2 separate regions of the Homo sapiens genome follow, and region 2 is linked to region 1. Evidence: promoter capture Hi-C in human tissues and cell types (Jung and others, 2019). All regions are on one chromosome and are shown on one strand. Each heading gives the region's core, a stretch centred on a gene start or on the middle of the fragment in contact. The rest is flanking DNA. Distances are from core to core; before and after follow the strand shown.

Region 1 (3,252 bases), core at 592-3,091:
AACATTTTTTTCGTCGCTTGGAGACTAGCTCTAAATATTATTGGTAAAGACTTTTGCAAACTTCCTGCAAAGCTCCTACCGTACCACTAGAACTTTTAAAAAGTTTTTCGTAGCTTTCTTTCCTCCAGATCTATACAAGGTCCATTCCCCCGCCCTCCCCACCCTCCCCAGGTTTTCTCTGTACAAAAATAGTCCCCCAAAAAGAAGTCCAGGATCTCTCTCATAAAAGTTTTCTTGTCGGCATCGCGGTTTTTGCGTGAGTGTGGATGGGATTGGTGTTCTCTTTTGCAGCTGTCATTTGCTGTGGGTGATGGGATTTTTTTTTTTCCTTTTTCTTTTTGAGCGTACCGGGTTTTCTCCATGCTGTTTCTTACTCTCCTCTTTTGCACCCCTCCCATTTCCCTCGTTTTTCTTTGAAAATTTCTCCCCCCTCCAGTTCGCTGTCCGGCCCTCACATGTGTGAGAGGGGCAGTGTGCCGTTAATGGCCGTGCCGGGCACCGGGCCGCTCTGGTAGTGCTGGGACATGTGAAGTCTGCTGGGGGCGGCGGGTTCCGGCACCTCGGCGCCGGGGAGATACATGCTGATCATGTCCCGGAGGTCCCCGGCCTGGCAGGGCGCCCTGGAGTGGGAGGAAGAGGTAACCACAGGGGGGCTGGAGCTGGCCTCGGACTTGACCACCGAACCCATGGAGCCAAGAGCCATGCCAGGGGTGCCCTGCTGCGAGTAGGACATGCTGTAGGTGGGCGAGCCGTTCATGTAGGTCTGCGAGCTGGTCATGGAGTTGTACTGCAGGGCGCTCACGTCGTAGCGGTGCATGGGCTGCATCTGCGCTGCGCCGTGCGCATTGAGGCCCGGGTGCTGCGGGTAGCCCAGCTGGTCCTGCATCATGCTGTAGCTGCCGTTGCTCCAGCCGTTCATGTGCGCGTAACTGTCCATGCGCTGGTTCACGCCCGCGCCCAGGCCGGCGCCCACCCCGACCCCGCTCGCCATGCTATTGCCGCCGGGGGCCAGCAGCCCGCCGGGCAGCGTGTACTTATCCTTCTTCATGAGCGTCTTGGTTTTCCGCCGGGGCCGGTATTTATAATCCGGGTGCTCCTTCATGTGCAGCGCTCGCAGCCGCTTAGCCTCGTCGATGAACGGCCGCTTCTCCGTCTCCGACAAAAGTTTCCACTCGGCGCCCAGGCGCTTGCTGATCTCCGAGTTGTGCATCTTGGGGTTCTCCTGGGCCATCTTGCGCCGCTGCCCGCGGGACCACACCATGAAGGCATTCATGGGCCGCTTGACGCGGTCCGGGCTGTTTTTCTGGTTGCCGCCGGCCGCCGCCGCGGTGGAGTTGCCGCCGCCGCCCCCCGAAGTTTGCTGCGGGCCCGGCGGCTTCAGCTCCGTCTCCATCATGTTGTACATGCGGGCGCTGTGCGCGGGCCCGGCCCGCCGGCGGCCGCCGACCCTCGGCCCGGCCGGGACTTTGGGGGGCCCGCGGGCGGGGGGAGAGGAGGAGGGGAGGCGGGCGGGGGTGTCGGGAGCGCAGGGCTCCGCGAGGAAAATCAGGCGAAGAATAATTTGGGGGAAAAAAAGAGAGAGGCAAACTGGAATCAGGATCAAAAAAAGCGCTTCCCTCCTCCTCTGGCCGATCCTGCCGCCGCCGATGATTGTTATTATTATTTTTTGGAAAGGCTTAAGCCTGGGGCTCAAACTTCTCTCCCTTTCTTTCTCTCTCCTCTTCTTTCTCTCAGTCCTAGTCTTAAAGAGGCAGCAAACTACTTTCCCCCTTTTGCAAACACTCTCTTCTCTGCCTTGACAACTCCTGATACTTTTTTGAACAAGTTAATAGACAACCATCCATGTGACGGGGGCTGTCAGGGAATAAATGGGTTTCTAGCGACCAATCAGCGCGCGGCGGCTCCTCCACTCGAGCCCAGCCTCGCTGCCGGGTTTTGCATGAAAGGGGGCGGGGCCTCCCGCGCCGCCGGCCGCGCGGGGGAGGCCGGGGGAGGAGGGGGCAGGCGAGGAGGGGGAGGAGGCTCCCAGAGCCAGCCTGCCAGCCACTGAGAAACCTTTGTATCCCCTCTCGCAGCAACAGGTCACACCACACGCCTTTTCGAAGGAAGTGGGTAAACAGCACTAAGACTACGTGGGTTTTTTTTTCTTTAAACTTAATATTGATTTACTTTTTGGTGCAGGGTACTTAAATGAGGATGGGACGCGGGAAGCAGCTAAGGTGCGGGGGTGGGGCAGGGCACAGTGGGTGGCTCAGGGCGGCTGTCCAACTCGTATTTCTGGAAACAGCCAGTGCAGGAGTTGGTGTGTCATTGTTCTCCCGCTCATCCACAGCACTCCCCCCCAACTCCAGCCCCTCTGGTGCCGCTCCCGTACTGCGCTCTTCCGCTCTCCTCTCTTACCTTACAGGTGCCAACACTCTCTCACGCCCTTCTCACAGTCCCGACTAGAAGTTAGGAGACCCAAACCTCTGTCCTCAAAACCTTCCTTGCTTCCACGTAACTTGCTCTGTTCTTAAAAATAAATCCTGCTCGGACCATAAGGCAGACTCTAGAGCTGAGAACCAGCAGGCCTTGGTAAGCTGCCATCTCCCTGTCCAACTCAGCTCTTTGGCCCAGGAAACTGCAGCTCTTCCTCTTAGCCCCAGCCACATCTCCCACTAGACTGTCTTCATTCAACCGTAGCAAAGGGGATGCTTCTACTGTCTGCCCCCACTCCCCATTCCCATCCCATGCCTCCCCGTAAGAAGGGTTTCGGTCGTGCGGCTTTCAAATGGGGGCTGGGGAAAGACACAGACGGAAGGGCGCTCAAAAGTGCAGGCGATGGGGGAGGGTGATTTCAACTTCCTGGCATCCCACGGCACTGTATGGAGGTGGCTTTTGGGCCGCAGTCACAAACTCCCTCCCACGCAGAGTTCCCAGGACTCCAGCAGAACCAGCCCTGGCATTTTCCCCGTAGATTTCCATTGTGGTGGCCGCAAAGCCCAGGCCGCGCAAGGCTGGGGCTGCGCCGCAAAGGGGCTCAAGGCCTGGGAGGCGGGGTCGATGCTCTCCAGGCACAGGTGCAGGCAGCGCACACTGGGAGAAGGCGGCCGGGACTGGGGAAGGGGGAGCCCAGCAAGGCCCGGGTTAGAGGAGGATGAGATGGGGGCGGGGGTAGGGGCTCAGGAATCTTGCCCGCCCAGGACCCAAGAGGGTAATTTTAGCCGCTCTCCCATTGTCCCGACGTAAAGATTTCAATAGGTAGGCGCTCAA
Region 2 (3,262 bases), core at 683-3,182, 210 kb before region 1:
GCCAGCCATATGCAGAAGATTAAAATTGGACCCCTTTCTTACACCATGTACAAAAGTCAACACAAGATGGATTAAATACTTAAATGTAAACCCCAAAACTATAAAAACCCTGGAAGACAACTGAGGCAATACCATTCTGGACATAGGAATGGGCAAAGATTTCATGACAAAGACACCAAAAGCAATTGCAACAAAAGGAAAAAAATTGACAAATGGGAACTAATTAAACTTAAGAGCTTCTACACGACAAAAGAAAATGTCAACAGAGTAAACAGACAACCTACAGAATGGGAGATAATATTTGCAAACTATGCATCTGACAAAGGTCTAATATCCAACATCTATAAAGAACCTAAATAAATTTAACAAGAAAAAATTTAAATTTCTTGTTTAAATTTAGTAAATTTAAACAAGAAAAAAAAACAACCCTATAGAAAAAGTTGGCAGGGGACATGAACAGACACTTTTCAAAAGAAGACATACATATGGCTAACAAGCCTTGAAAAAATGCTTAATATTACTGATCATTGGAGAAGTGCAAATCAAAACCACAGTGAGATACCATCTCATAAAAGTCAGAATGGCTATTATTAAAAAGTCAAGGCCAGGCTTGGTGGCTCACGTCTGTAATCCCAGCACTGTGGGAGGCCAAGGCAGGCCTATCACCTGAGGTCAGGAGTTCAAGACCAGCCTGACCAACATGGAGCAACCCCATCTGTACTAAAAAATAACAATAAAAATAATACAAAAATTAGCCAGGCATGGTGGTACATGTCTGTAATCCCAGCTACTCGGGAGCTGAGGCAGGAGAATCGCTTGAACCTGGGAGGCGGAGGTTGCAATGAGCCAAGATTGTGCCATTGCACTCCAGCCTGGGCAACAAGAGTGAAACTCCATCTCAAAAAAATAAATAAATAAATAATAAAATAAAATAAATAAAAATAAAAAGTCAAAACAACAGATGCTGGCAAGGTTGTGGAGAAAAGGGAACTCTTAAACACCGTTGGTGGGAGTGTAAATTAGTTCAACCATCAAGGAAAGCAATGTGGCAATTCCTCAAAGAGCTAAAAGCAGAACAGTCATTTCACCCAGCAATCCCATTACTGGGTATACACCCATAAGAATATAAATCATTCTACCATAAAGACACAGGCACTTTCATGTTCACTGCAGCACTATTCACAATAGCAAAGACATGGAATCAATCTAAATGTTCACTAATGACAGATTGGATAAAGAAAATATGGTACGGCCGGGCACGGTGGCTCACGCCTATAATCCCAGCACTTTGGGAGGCTGAGGCAGGAGATTGAGACCATCCTGGCTAACACGGTGAAACCCCGTCTCTACTAAAAATACAAAACATAGCCGGGCGTGATGGCGGACACCTGCAGTCCCAGCTACTCGGGAGGCTGAGGCAGGAGAATGGCGTGAACCCAGGAGGCGCAGCTTGCAGTGGGGCGAGATCGCACCACCGCACTCCAGCCTGGGCAACGGATTGAGACTCCACCTCAAAAAAAAAAAAAAAAAGACAAAGAAAAAAAAGAAAATGTGGTACGTATACACCAGGGAATACTTTCAATCCATAAAAAAGAATGAGATCTCCCTCTCCCTCTCCCTCTCCCTCTCCCGTCTCCCGTCTCCCACTTTCCACGGTCTCCCTCTGATGCCCAGCCGAGGCTGGACTGTACTGCCGCCATCTCGGCTCACTGCAACCTCCCTGCCTGATTCTCCTGCCTCAGCCTGCCGAGTGCCTGGGATTGCAGGCGCGTGCCGCCACGCCTGACTGGTTTTTGTATTTTTTGGTGGAGACGGGGTTTCGACGTGTTGGCCGGGCTGGTCTCCAGCTCCTGAACGTGAGTGATCTGCCCGCCTGGGCCTCCCGAGGTGCCGGGATTGCAGACGGAATCTCGCTCACTCAGTGCTCAATCTTGCCCAGGCTGGAGTGCAGTGGCGTGATCTCGACTTGCTACAACCTCCACCTCCCAGCCGCCTGCCTTGGCCTCCCAAAGTGCGGAGATTGCAGCCTCTGCCCAGCCGCCACCCCGTCTGGGATGTGAGGAGCCCCTCTGCCCTGCCGCCCAGTCTGGGAAGTGAGGAGAGCCTCTTCCCGGCCGCCATCCCATCTAGGAAGTGAGGAGAGTCTCTGCCCGGCCGCCCGTCGTCTGAGATGTGGGGAGCGCCTCTGCCCCGACGCCCCGTCTGGGATGTGAGGAGCGCCTCTGCCCGGCCGCGACCCTGTCTGGAAGGTGAGGAGCGTCTCTGCCCGGCTGCCCCGTCTGAGAAGTGAGGAGCCCCTCCGCCCGGCAGCCGCCCCGTCTGGGAAGTGAGGAGCGTCTCCGCCCGGCAGCTGCCCCGTCCAGGAGGTGGGGGGCAGCCCCCGCCCGGCCAGCCGCCCCATTCGGGAGGTGGGGGGCGCCTCTGCCCGGCCGCCCCGTCTGGGAATTGAGGAGCCTCTCTGCCCAGCCACCACCCCGTCTGTGATGTGTACCCAACAGCTCATTGAGAATGGGCCATGATGACGATGGCGGTTTTGCCGAATAGAAAAGTGGGAAATGGGAAAAGAAAGAGAGATCAGATTGTTACTGTGTCTGTGTAGAAAGAAGTAGACATAGGAGACTCCATTTTGTTCTGTACTAAGAAAAATTCTTCTGCCTTGGGATACTGTTAATCTGTAACCTTACCCCCAACCCCGTGCTCTCTGAAACATGTGCTGTGTCAACTCAGGGTTAAATGGATTAAGGGCGGGGCAAGATGTGCTTTGTTAAACAGATGCTTGAAGGCAAGCATGCTCATTAAGAGTCATCACCACTCCCTAATCTCAAGTACCCAGGGACACAAACACTGCGGAAGGCCGCAGGGTCCTCTGCCTAGGAAAACCAGAGACCCTTGTTCACATGTTTATCTGCTGACCTTCCCTCTACTATTGTCCTATGACCCTGCCAAATCCCCCTCTCCGAGAAACACCCAAGAATGATCAATAAATACTAAAAAAATAATAATAATAAAAAAATAAAAATAAAAAGAATGAGATCACGTCTTTTGCAGGAACATGGATGGAGCTAGAGGCCATTATCCTTAGCAAACTAATGCAGGATCAGAAAACCAAATACTGCATGTTCTCCCTAACAAGTAGAAGCTAAATGATGAGAACACATGGCCAGAAAGAGGGGAACAACACACACTGGGGCCTACATGTGGGTAGGGGGTGGGAGGGAAGAGAGGATCAGAAAAAATAACCATTGGCTTCTAGGCTTAGTAC

Evidence for each region. The method cuts DNA at HindIII sites, captures the fragments that hold promoters and counts their contacts. A contact is called where the count stands out against the background at its distance.
Region 2: a fragment that was not itself captured here is called in contact with the fragment with the promoter of SOX2 in region 1 in 2 of the 25 tissues and cell types used here (bladder and neural progenitor cells).

What each region holds. Positions count from the first base shown.
Region 1 is chr3:181,710,514-181,713,765 of GRCh38, reverse strand. It overlaps SOX2 (SRY-box transcription factor 2), which reads right to left and starts at 1,841. Exons shown (of 1, transcript NM_003106.4): 1 at 1-1,841. The coding sequence starts at 1,405. The coding sequence ends at 452. All of the region lies in intron 6 of SOX2-OT (SOX2 overlapping transcript), which reads right to left. RefSeq lists enhancers at 1-851, 852-1,705, 1,706-2,558, 2,559-3,252, a silencer at 1,941-2,000 and a promoter at 1,580-2,613. The HindIII fragment of the contact is 19,833 bases long and covers 1-3,252 here.
Region 2 is chr3:181,925,048-181,928,309 of GRCh38, reverse strand. No RefSeq gene overlaps it. Among named protein-coding and RNA genes, the nearest start is that of LINC01206, 26 kb to the left of the region's middle. RefSeq lists enhancers at 1,264-1,855, 1,856-2,449. The HindIII fragment of the contact is 5,593 bases long and covers 1-3,262 here.